Regions from separate parts of the Homo sapiens genome. Here region 1 is linked to region 2. Evidence: promoter capture Hi-C in 16 types of primary human blood cells and fetal thymus (Javierre and others, 2016). All regions are on one chromosome and are shown on one strand. Each heading gives the region's core, a stretch centred on a gene start or on the middle of the fragment in contact. The rest is flanking DNA. Distances are from core to core; before and after follow the strand shown. Region 1 overlaps FBXO38 (F-box protein 38). Region 2 holds the start of SH3TC2 (SH3 domain and tetratricopeptide repeats 2).

Region 1 (6,422 bases), core at 2,479-4,978, 620 kb after region 2:
GAGAAGCATCTGAGGAAGAGGATGATGTGCTGCAGACATATCTAACAGATTGGCCTTGACAATCACTGGAGTTGATAAATGCTACAAGCAGACTATCCCCATGTCTGGGACAAAGGAAGTTCACTGTGCCTCCTCTCCACTTGACTCTCCAGGCTGCAAGACTCTTCAGCTCTGAAACCAGAGAGGGATGCACCATTCTAGCCTTCACCATTAACTGCTAGAAAGCAAAAGAAATAAAAACCAACTTCTTAAACTGATACCCAAGTATATGCTTGTAAAAAAACCTTTTCCTTCTGAGGCCCCACCCTCTTGTCTTGCCAACATTTCCACTTCGTGCTGCTAACTTGCTCTGTCCTGATGCAAATTGCTGTCTAGCTGGAGAGTGGTGGGGGGGCGGGGGTGGGCATGGGGTGGATGAGGGAGGGGACCTAGGGAGGGGCTGGGGAGTGGATATAACTACACTGCCTTTAATATTGTCTTCAAGCAAGAACAAAAATAATGTCTTCTTGGTGCTGTGCTGTCTACCCACTTATCTCTTTGGTATTGGATCTCTCTGGTGAGAAAACGTTGTCACTCCTCTCTTTTTGTCTCTTCACTTTGCTGTGGTCAAAATCTTGTAACATCTAGTCTAGGAAGGAAAAAAAGACTAATGCATTTACCTCTTCTGGCCAAAATTTGTAATCTCTTTTCCATCTAATTTAGAAAACTGAGGCTGAATATTTGGTTTGAAGTCAAACAATTCAGGAATGGATTTGAAGTCCTAAGTATGAACAACGCATTGCTTTGGGCCTTACCCAACACTTAACTTCACCTGTCTCATCTACAAAATAGAGATAATTTCTGAGTTTGTACGATTGTTGTAAGTGCTCCAACATGGGTCATCTGAGGGCCACTGTTAGGATTTTTATCAAATGTGTTCTGCCTGTTCTGTTACCTATTTAATATCCTTATTTAAGTCCATTCAAGTTTTCACTTACCTAAATTTATTTTTGAAGGGAACATTATATCAGTACTCAAAATAGAAAAAAAGGCTAATGAGTTTTAACTAGATGCCAGTGATCAAAGTGCAACCTCTGTTTCTGTGTTTAAAAGGGAGACAAGTGAATGTTGGAGAGTTGTTAGAAATGCCCTACCTCTTGCTTGGGGCTCTTTCAGTTAATTGGGAGGGTCAAAAGAGAATTTACAAAAGAGAAGCTTCCAAGCTTTAGGAGTTATTGTGATTTAGCTACAAGCTGCATTCTACACTTTTGGAAACATGGAGAGAAGGGATAAGAAACTGCATACATTTTTAACTACTGTTACAGTGGATTCAGATTAGGTTTCTCCTTCTTTACCTTTTCTTTCAGTTTGCCCCAGATCTATATCTTTGTTAATAAAAATAATAATAAAATAGCAATAAGAGAAACTGACATTTAATGAGTTTTTTTTTTCTGCTAGGCATTGTGGTCAGTGCTTTATATGAACTATTTCATTTAATCCTTATGAAATCCTTACAAGATTAGAATGAAAATTACCCCCACTTTACAGCTGAGCAAACCTCAGCTAAGACATCTGGCGACTAGCTCAAGGTAGCAGACCTGGGAAGTGTGGATTTGAAATGCAAACCCAGGCAGTCTTATTCTAAATGAGGCCCACAGTCCTAAGCATGTGCAACTGTGGTCATTATGGGGATGTATGTATTCCACCTTCACCTGTTAGACACTGCTAGGAGAGAGCAATGAACAATGTTGCTTAAGAATTTTCCTTTCCACATCAGCCTGGGACCCGAAGAGGAACTCTGGAATGCCTATTCCAGTTTGAACTCTGCCACTCATTTGCTTTCTTGTTTTCCTTTGCTCTTGCTTCCTCTCCCTGAGCCTCAACTTCCATCTTTAAACCATGGAAGACTCTGGTAAATTATTGATCAACAGGAAAGGCCCTCTGCACTGATCTTTTATAGTCTGTCTAGTATTCAGCAACCTGGGATTACTGAATAACCAGCAATAGACTGTGAGAACAAGATGTGAGTCAAAGAAAGCATTGGTCCTTTATATTCCAGGCCATCAGAGAGGCTGCTCATAGTAGGAGTGGCCCCTGAAAAAGGCAGTTTGCCTTCCCCATATTTCTTGGTCGGAACCTGGAACACTATTTGGATATGCTCCCATTGGTCTCATTAAGCATCAGCCTACCATTGCAAGCTTTGTGCAGTTTCTCTGCACTTTTATAAGATCTCTAAGTCTCTCATAACAGTATATAAAGAGGGATTGTTGACTTCATTTTACAGAAGAGGAAAGACTTTGTCAGGGAAAGTGATTTGTCCAAGAACAAGAGCTGATATGAGGCTGAAGTCAGAGGACTGAAAACATTCAGATTTCTCAATTCTAACAAAGTGCTTCCTTCTTAAGTTTATTTTATTTCTAAATATATAAATTATACATTTTTAGACTATATAAATAATAGGTTACATAAATGATGTATTTATGCAATCCATTTCCACTGTAAAAATTTGTTATATATATTAATACATACAAGAAAATACCCCTTGACTCCAACTCAATGCTACCCCCCTCCCCAGAAGTAAATGCTTTTTTCACTTGGCTTATGTAATTCAAATGTAATTTTCTATGCATTTACATATGTATAAATGTACATGTATAACATATGGCTTTTTTTCTTATATGTAAATAAAATGATGTTGGTATATAATAATCTGCTACTTGCGTTTTCAACAGTGTACTCTAAACATCATTTCACATTAACACATATAGTTTTTTTTAGCTGCTGCGTATCCATTTCTTGCTATAGACATTGTATGGATTGCAGTGTTCTTTTGCATTCTACCTGCCTCCCATGTGTAAATGGGACATCTCCCGCATCAGAAAATCAGCCTCTGTTTTTCTGGGACTGTGCTAAACATAGCTGGAGTGGTTTCAATTTAAGTGGCAGCAGTAAGTTGACTTGGCAGGTTCCCTATTAGGGCAGGCCCACCCTTATATGGGCCTCCTCTCATTATGAAGGACCAAGAAACTGCCCAAGTTGCACAGGCTTTGGACTCATCCTGCAGGATGTCATCCTTTGACAGCATCCTGCTCCCATCAATTCCTAGATGTGTGCTTTTGAGCAAGTTATGTAACCTTCTAAAACCGAGTTTTCTCACCAGTAAAGTAGGAACATATTGATCATACATTTAAAGTGTTATTGCAGGAGGTATGGAAAGCACTTAGTAATGATCACTTTTAAAAATGCTAGCTTTCATACTGTCATGATTTCCTCTTTCTCAACAGCCTCACCAGTTCTGTTTCCTACTATCCTGGAATATGGTATGAGGAACAGGTTATGGAAAGATGAGTCCAAAAAAACCCCACACAGCACCCGCCCCCCGCCCCCCCCGCCACAAAAAACAAACAAAACCAAACTTGGCTGGGCGCGGTGGCTCACGCTTGTAATCCCATCACTTTGGGAAGCCGAGCGGGTGGATCACCTGAGGTCAGGAGTCTAAGACCAGACTGGTCAACATGGCAAAACCCCGTCTCTACTAACAATACAAAAATTAGCCTGGCATGGTGGCGGGTGCCTATAATCCCAACTACTTGAGAGGCTGAGGCAGGAGAATCGCTTGAACCAGGAGGCAGAGGTTGCAGTAAGCTGAGATCGTGCCACTGCACTCCAGCCTGGGCAACACCCAAACTTCTTTTGATAATAAAAGAAATTATACTGGAAGCAATACTACCTCCACTGGCATCACACTGTCCAGTTTACTGGCGGCTCCTATTGGAAACTAACCACTGCCCTATGGGGTGGGTGGTTATATTATTAGTTGTTACCATTTGACAGAAAAGAAAACTGAGGCTGAAGGGTAGGGGTTCCAACCATCTCCAGCTCTCCCATCAGTTGTTTGAGGAAGTCAAAAACTGAACTCAGGTCTTCAGATTCTACATATGAAGTCCCTGTAAGAATTGTGGTACTAGCTATTATTTAGGGAGACTGTTAGACCTACACACCTGGCAATGAGACACAATTCTCTCACTGATATTAAGTTATATATCATCCATGCAGTATTTTTAAGGCCTTTAAAAAATGTGCCAGGCACTGCACTGCACCAACAGCTGGTGATATAATTAAATGAATGAATAGGATATCTCAGTTCTCTATGGCAGGTGTGGCCAAACCGTGGCCTGGAGGCCAAATCTGGTCTATGAGCCTTCAGGATGGTGTTTTACTTTAGTAAATGGCTGTGGAAAAAGTTTTATTTTGTGACGTGAAAATTACATGAAATTGAAATTTGTGTCCATAAAGTTTTATTGCAACACAGCCATGCCCATTCGTTTATATCGTCTATGACTTTCACAATAGTTGTGCAGTTGCCACAGAGAATGTGGCCCATTGAGCCTAAAATATTTACCATTTGGACCTATATAGTTTGCTGACCCTTGCTGTAGAGCAATCACTCTCCAGCCCTTCGTATTATATATATATTCAGAGTGACTATCGTAGTTGGCATCTTCCAGATTTTTTTTCAGCTATTCCAGTCTTAGCAACTTTTGAATGATTTTAGCGCTGCCAGCTGTACTTCCACTGATCTAACAGTTTAGGTTAGGTTAGACAAAGACATGACTAAGCCAAAAATTACAAAGCAGCGGCCTCTTGTGGCTAATGTAAGCATTACTTAGATAATTTGGTTAACAGGTTACAGTGAAAACCTAGAGTTAGATTGTCTTCGCTCAGGGTTGGGAATCCCAGATTACTTTGAAATATCTAGGATATTCTGTATTTCCTGCCTCTTACCACACTTGTAATCTGTATAGTGAAACACACTTGTCTAATTATAAGTTAGCTGAGTTAAAAATAATGTAATAAGGAGACAATAGAATGAAGTACCCAATTGAATCACTCTTCCTAATGTAATGAGAATTTTTAGAGCCTGGGAAAAAAAGAGAACGTTAAGGAAAGACACTGATTAACGCGGAATATTTTGTGTTAGAAAAACTTGCTGGCATCCTTGTATTTCTGTCACGAAAAACAGAGGCAGCCTAGTGGGAATCAGAAATTGGGATTATTGTCCTACCTAGCCTAAAAACAGGTCCTAATTATGAGTGAGCAATTTTCCCCCTTGGGCTTCAATTAAGCCCTTGTAAATGAAGGGGCTGAACAAATCTCAAAGAAACTTTACACCTTTGACCATAATTTCATGTCTAGAGAAAATTTATAAAAATGTTCCACAGGCCTTCAGTTTAAGTAATTTGCTGAGGTCACTTGGCTGGCAAGTGACAAAGCCATGACTCTGCAGGTGTTAAAGCTTTTGCTGACGACCCTTGACACTGTAATACTATGTATATCACTGCCTTATCAGGGCAATTAATTCCTCACCTTGAAAGGGGAGAAAGGCCATCTCCTGATGACAAGAAGTTTGGAAAATTCTGCTGTTCCCAGTATTGCCTTAAAGAGCTCTGCCTGTAATCCTAGTACTTTGGGAGGCTGAGGCAGGCAGATCACCTGAGATCAGGAGTTCCAGACCAGCCTGGCCAACATGGTGAAACCCTGCCTTTACTAAAAAATACCAAAAATTAGCTAGGCATAGTGGCGGGTGCCTATAATCCCAGCTACTCCGGAGGCTGAGACAGGAGCATCACTCGAACCTGGGAGGCAGAGGTTGCAGTGAGCCGAGATCATGCCATTGCACTCCAGCCTGGGCAACAAGAGTGAAACTCCATCTCAAAAAAAAAACCAAACCAAAAAAAACAAACAAAAAAAGTTATGTGAGTTGAACATCTTGTAGCTAAAAACTTTCAGAGATCAGAAATTGGATTACACTGGAATCTTACCTTAGATACAACTCTATATATACACTGCTTTTCTGTGCAGTATTTGCTACTCTTCTTTAAAAAGAGGGATTCAGGTCCAAGGCAAGAGAAAAGTTTTTAATAAACTTTTATTTTATATTCAAGATAAAGCATATACACAATTCAATGTGGAAATAAATTACTAGAAATACTCTGGAAACTTTTCCATTTCCCTCTCAAACTCACTTTTTTTTAAGCTCATAAGTCTTTTTACTTGATTTTAAGAAACATGGCAACTATAATACTAAGAAAGAACTACAGCTTTGTACAGAAACATAGAGCCTTGTCTTGACTATAAGGTTTAGTTGGTGTTTTAATAACAACAAAAAAGCACAAAAGACACAAACACTCTTCAACAGGTTTACTCAAACAGCTTCGCTCAAGAAGAAAAAGGCACAGATTTAAAGGGATGACAATAATCATTAAGAATGAAGTAAATGGAGACTCAGTCAAAAAATGATACTTCATGAATTAAGTCAAGAAAAACAAAAGTCTTTCAAATTATCTGTCTTCCTTAAAATGAATTTTTAAATTAAATTGTATAAACATATGATATAAAGTTGGTACTTTAGGAAGCGTCTTTGTATATTTTTTATGTACAAA
Region 2 (6,468 bases), core at 3,955-6,454:
TTATTTATTTTTAGCATTTTCTTAGAGATAGGGTATTTATATGTTGCCCAGGCTGGTCTTGGACTCCTAGCCTCAAGTAATTCTCCTGCCTTAGCCTCCTATAGCTTATAAACATTTAAACGTTAGGAAGCTTCACTTACAAATCTGGATTTTTGGTTTCCATGACAAAAGAGAATGTGTGGTTGCACAGGCCTGTCTTGCACCATGTTCCTCAATGCCCAAAGCCTAGCAGGGGCTTCTTCTTAGACAGAGCAGTGCCCTCCATGCCCCACAGGTACACCTCTCCCTGTTGTTGCCCCAACCTTGACACCAGTGAAACTTCTTTTGCAAAGATTATGACAGTGAGAGGAGTTTAATGTGACTGATTTCATCTTGCTTCTAGCCTCACAGGCTGGCTGTCTTTGCTCATCCCTAGGTGTAGGCCAAGCTAACCATGGGAGGAACTTAGTTTGTAGTCTAACTTTGAAGCAAGGATGATAACAGTCCCTCTCTAAAACGAATTCCCTTGTTGTTTGGGGGCTGAAACTGCCTTTGTAAGGCTAATGAAAAGCCATAAGATTAAGATTATGGGAGGGACCTGAATTCTGCTAAAATGTAGATATAGTTTCTATAATCCCTTATTGTTCAGGAGTCATGTGGTCAGAGGTCACAAGATTTGTGACTTCCCCAATTGCTTCTGTAGGTAACACCACTATTGTAGAACCTAAAATTGGTCTTTTGAGATGTCTTTCAGACTTTTACATTCTGGCAACTGACTGAGCCCACCCAGACTCATTACTCATGACTTCACCTGTCCTGTGTTTCCCATCTAGAAACAAACTCAGTGCATGAGGACTATTTTCCACATTCCTATGATTGCACCCCCAACCAATCAGCAGCACCCAACCCCTCCCTGCCTGCCCACCAAACTATCCTTGAAAAACCCTAAACTCTGAGTCTTCAGGGAGATTGACTGGAGTGATAACCCTGGTTGTTCTGCATGGCTGGCCTCACATTAATGAAAGGTTTTCTCTGCTGCAATACCAGTCTCAGTGAACTGGTTTTGTCTGTGCAGCAGGCAGAAAGAATCCATTAGGCAATTACAGTGGGATCAGCTGCCACTTATCTCCTGGCCAGTTCACTCATTTCTATCAGCTGCGTGGCTCTTGTAGCCATATGAGCTTGTAACCCCTGAACACCAAACAAATATTAAGGGAATAACAGGTATTCCATAATGATGGCAATGATGGTGATGGTGGTGAGTTGAAGGTGGGTTGGAGCTCCACTTTTTTTTTTTTTTTACCGTATACTCTTGAAGCTTTCTCAATCTAGCTTTTATCTCCACTGCTCCACCAAGATGTCCAGTGGTAAATTCTCTGTGCACATCTTACTTATTAGCAGCATTTGACATAGTTAATCACCTTCTGCTCTTGAAACACTTTCTTCACTTGAATTCTGTACCATCTTATGCTCTTGGTGCATATCGTCTCACTGGCCACTATTTCTCTATCGCTTTTGCTGGTTTCTACTCCTTTCTTATTCATATAAAAATTAATGTGCTTGTAGGGCTCATTCTTGATATATCCTCTGTATTCTATCCTCCACTTTCTGCCTTAAGAGATCTTGCTTGGTCTTCTAACTTTACATACCCTCTACACAGTGACAACTCCCAAATACTTACCTTCAGCTTTTAACTTCTCCATGAACTCCAGATTGCTTTGTCTACATTTGCTTGGATATACTAAAGGACTATTAAATATTACATATACAAAACCAAACTCCTGGTTTCAATTCACAAAGCTTCTTTTCTCCTAGCATTTAACATTTCAATAATTATTAAATTATTTCAGTTGTTCAGATAAAAAAAATCAGAACTACTCTAAAGTAGATTTTTTTTTTTCCTCTCATACATTCAATGTATCAACACATCCTCATGGGTCTCTGTGATGGTTAATTTCATGTGTTCTCTTGGCTAGGTTATGGTGGCCAGTTGTTTGACCAAAGAACAAAATAGATGTTGAAGGTATTTTTTTTTAAAGATAATTAACATTGACATCAGTAGACAGTGAACAAAGCAGATTACCCTCTCTAATGTGCATGGGTCTTCCCACTAGCTGACTGGGGGCCTTCCAATCAGTTGAAGGCCTTAAGACTGAAGACTGAAGTTTCCTGAAAAAGAAGAAATTCTTCTCAAGAATTCTTGACTGCAACATGGGAAACTTATATGAGTCTCTAGTCTGCTGCTCTGTGGAATTTTGACTAAAGACTGCAATAGCAACTCTTACTTGAGTCTCCAGACTGCTGGCCTGCCCTATGGATTTCAGATTTGCCAACCCTCACAGGAGCCAATTTGTTAATTTTTTTTTTTCTCAACTTTTATTGGTCCTGTTTCTCTGGAGTACCTTGACTAATACACCCTTATTTCAAAATGTGTCTAATACCTAAACCCTTTTCATCACCTCTACCAATAGCACTTTGGTTCAAGACATTATCATCTCTCTGCTGGATGTTACAATTGCTGCATATCTGGAGTTCCATCTATAGCCCATGAGCCAGGCTGACCCTTTAAAACCGTAAGTCATGCATGTTACTCTTCTCTTTAGTGTCCTCCATTGGCTCTTACCTCATTCAGAGTAAAAACTGGAGTCCTTAGATGACCTCTAAGGCCCTACACTGTTTGGTCTCCTGCTGCTTTCTCTGACTTCATCTCTGTGCCCTCACCTACCTCACTAGCCTTCAGCCACACTTCCTTTAACATGCTAAGCAAGTTCCTACTTCAGGGCCTTTGCTCCTGCTGGAAGTCTCTTTGCTCTAGTCAATTCATCAGGCTACCCAGGAGCAGAACAGCACAGTTTCTTGCATCTCAAGGGAAGCAATGACTTTATCCAGAATGGACTATTCATTTAAGACCTGCTGCAATGTGTGTGTTAGCCAACTGCCTAGGGTGTCATCTCTGACACATGGCCTGGGATCCTTTCAATAGTTGATTTTGATCATTTATAGTCTGATTGTTGTTGTACCTGTGTAAGAGTGGTTGGTGTGCAGACCAGCCAAGGAGCAATGATAAGTCTGCGCATCTGTCAGCGTGTGTAAGTTAGAGCATGGGGCTTCTTGTCACTGCCTGACTTTCAAGTACATCCCAGTTTTAAGTGGCTGTTTTCTAAAGAAACTCTTGTCCTTTCATTGTGGGCCCAAGAAAACATTTGAATTCATATTCAAAAACACTGTACTTCAGTAAGGGAAACACATGAGAAACGTATGGGAAGTAGATACTTTAAATAGACCTGCACAGAGAAAACATCCTCCCCGGTGGCAATGTGATCAGAGAGACCCCATCCCTCCTGCGCTCTACTCCCTGCCCCAGCTCTCATCTCCTGGGCTTTGTGTAAATGGTTAGCTGGCTCCAGAGGTTTCAGTCCTTCCTAGGCCTTTCTCATTGTGTGTCCTAGTAGTCATGGGAGAACCCACAATGTATCCCATGTATCAGAAACGTGATTCTTCTGGGCTGTGGAATCAACTAGACCTTGCTCAGTCTTGACTCTGACATTCATAAATGGTGGGAGAAGGGAGGGAGTTGGACAAGTTATACACTCCTCTTTATCCGTTTCCTCACTTACAAAGTAGAAATGATGCCTACATTATGGGGCTGTTATGGGATTTGAATAGAATAATGTACAGTGAGAGCCTGGCCCACAGTAAACATTCAGTAACTGTGTCTCAGGATGAGTCAGGATGGAGACGGGAGCAGTGCTTCAGAGACAGGCTCAAGACCCTGTCCTCTGGGGCTAGGCTGGTGTGTGAGGTGGATACTCCTGATCTCTGGTGGGACTGACCCCTAGGCCATTCTTCACCTGGTCACCCAAGTGCTCCTCTCAGAATATAAACTTGATCAGGCCACTGCCGTCCTAAAAATGCTGGTGATACTGACCTCAAGTTCAGCCTCCAAATAGCCTGCAACATAGGCCTGGCAGGACCTTCTCTTGGCTCACACCTCCTGTTCTTTGGGCCTCTCACCAGGGTCCTTTCACCACTTTGCTCTAGTCATGAAGGAAACATTGGGTGAGCAGTGCTCTTTGAGCTTGGTTGTTAGAGCAGTCATGCTTCCGTCCTACCTTGCTGGCATTCAGCCATATTTTCTCCATCTCCTTTGCAAGATCTCATGGGAGGTTTTCTGAAATTTAGCCACAGTGTCAACTGGATTCCCCTGCTCCACTGCCTATCTGAAACAGGAAAGAGGTTAGTCTTGTGGGACCAGTTTTGCTTGCATACCTGTAGACTTGCTGTATTTTTTCTTTTAGTTTTATTTTTAATTGACACATAATAATTCTACACATTTATGGGCTAGAATGTGATGTTTCAATATATCTATGTATTGTGTAATGAACAAATCAAGGTAATTATCATATCCATCATCTCAAACATCATTGTTTTTTTGTGGTGAGAACATTCAAAATCCTCTCTTCTATGTTGAAATATACAATACGTTATTAACTGTAGTCCCCCTACTGTGCAATAGAACACTAGAACTTACTCCTCCTATGTAACTCTAACCTTTTACCTATTGACCAACCTCTCCCCATCCTTTGATGTATTTGGTTCTCCATCCCCTCACCTGTAAAATGCTGGGCTTCATCAGGTGATCTCCTGGATTCTTTTCCTGCACACCAGCAGCTGGGGGTTTGCATGTTCCCCAGTGAGGAGCTGGCTCATTGATGCTGCTAGGTCCAAGTGAAATGCTGCACCCACAGCTCCAACTTTATCAGAGAGCCAAGGGAGGCCTTTGCAGAGAGAGACTGGGTGGAGATCACTGTAAAGGGGTGGCAGGCCAGTCAGTGTGGGCCAAGTCAGTCGGGGAGGGAGCAAGAAGAGCAGTCTTGATCTCTGGGATGTTCTCTGCCCTCCTCCCCAGCCCTGGCTGCCCTCACAAGAACCAAACTGTGTATCTCAATCCTAGAATGCGAGGAATGTGCTGCAGGCTGATAGGCATGAAGCGATCTGCTGAGAGGCAGGGAGGAGCCCTGTTCCCCAGGCCTGACAGTGCAGGAGCTGTGGGCCTGCAGGCTGGGCTGGGCTGCCCCTCCCACCCTCCCTGGGCCTCCTGCTGTAGCCGGGATATCAAAGGCTGCATTGTGCATTGAGCAGGCCTCGGTCCCTCGTGTGCCAGGGAGGAGGCGGGAGGAGGGACACCGTTGGGAGGCTGTCCCTTGCAGCACTCTTCTGGCCTGTGTTCCCAAGGGCCTCGGCCAGGGTAGGATGGTACACACATGGGTGGCTGCTTCTGCATCCCCAGGGAGCGGAGTCTGACCCGGGGCCCAGGTGAGTTTCCCAGGGGGCCCTTGGCCTGTGGCTTGGCCAAAGTGGATGGTCCAGTAGAGGCTCAGGGACCTGCTGGGTTGGAGAAACTTTTCTCCCAAAGATGGGGAGATGATTGTGCTTTCTGGCTGCCTCTCCTTCCTCCCTGGGTAAGTGTTTGTCATGCTGGCTCTGTAAAAAGGGAGCAAAGCCTGGAAGCATCTATTTTTTCCTGAAGAAAGAGCCTTTGAGTTTACTCTGTCAGGAGCTGAGCAGCACTGCTCCTGGCTGCCACTCCCAGGGTGTGACTAAGCCCTTCCTTCCTTTCTTCCCGAGATCCCCCCAGGACAGGAAGAAAGTTCAGGCAGTGAGTTCCTCTGTGGCCTATGGGTGGCCATAAACTTGGCCTTAGTCATTCAAGCCTATTTTTGTCAGGGTTGCTGTTACTGGAGAAAAACAGGCAGTTTCCTGCCTCCACCTATTACAGAGTGATTTGTGTGTGAGTGCATGTGTGAGTGTGTGCATCAAGTTGAGGCAATGGAGAGTTGTTGCTCTAAGAAATTGTCAACTCATGGGAGAGTGACTTAGGGTGACCAGCCATTATGGTTTGCCTGGGACTGAGGAATTTGCTGGGATATGTCAGTTCCAGGCCAACCAGGCTGGTTGGTCTCCCTGAAGCAACCTTCTTGCTTTTTTTCAGAGGAGAATCAAGGTAGGGCCCTGTGTTCTCTTGTGTGGTGTTTATCAGGATGAGTGGTGGCTTTGGGGAAATGTGGGGTTAGATTGGTGGGGGGAGGCTTGCTTGGGAGATAGGGGAACATTGCTCCAAGGAATCATTCCTAACCCTTGTTAGAACTCTGTGTCTTCCTGGAGCTCCACCATGGTTCCTGAGAGAAGGAGCTAAGGAGCATCCCCTAGCTGAGGGCTTTCTACTCTCTGACAGACAACTTTCTTCTTTAGTCTTATGACTTGGGCTTGTAGAAGGCACTTGAGGTCATTAAAGTGAACCCAAAACAACCATATTCTGCTTCCTCTGCTTGAAGTCTTGATCTAGGCACCTTGGCACCTACAGCAGGGAGTGTCCCCCCAAATGATGCCCTTGGCACAAAAGGCACGACTTTAGCTATGAACAATTTCGCTTCTCCAGATTTCTCAGATGTAAACACTTTTCAGTCCCTCCCCCTAAGTCCTATTGTC

What was found. Contacts are between HindIII fragments. The CHiCAGO score rates a contact against its expected background, and 5 or more counts as called.
Region 1: a fragment that was not itself captured here is called in contact with the fragment with the promoter of SH3TC2 in region 2 in 1 of 17 cell types (total B cells); the score reaches 5.2 in total B cells.

The regions. Positions count from the first base shown.
Region 1 is chr5:148,442,305-148,448,726 of GRCh38, reverse strand. FBXO38 (F-box protein 38) reads right to left here. Exons shown (of 22, transcript NM_205836.3): 22 at 5,891-6,422. Among named protein-coding and RNA genes, the nearest start is that of FBXO38, 62 kb to the right of the region's middle. The HindIII fragment of the contact is 3,098 bases long and covers 2,180-5,277 here.
Region 2 is chr5:149,061,798-149,068,265 of GRCh38, reverse strand. It overlaps SH3TC2 (SH3 domain and tetratricopeptide repeats 2), which reads left to right and starts at 5,204. Exons shown (of 17, transcript NM_024577.4): 1 at 5,204-5,295. The coding sequence starts at 5,244. MIR584 (microRNA 584) reads left to right here and starts at 5,857; the gene lies at 5,857-5,953. SH3TC2-DT (SH3TC2 divergent transcript) reads right to left here and starts at 4,949. Exons shown (of 3, transcript NR_122044.1): 1 at 4,592-4,949; 2 at 3,908-4,016. RefSeq lists a silencer at 4,946-5,240. The HindIII fragment of the contact is 16,687 bases long and covers 1,782-6,468 here.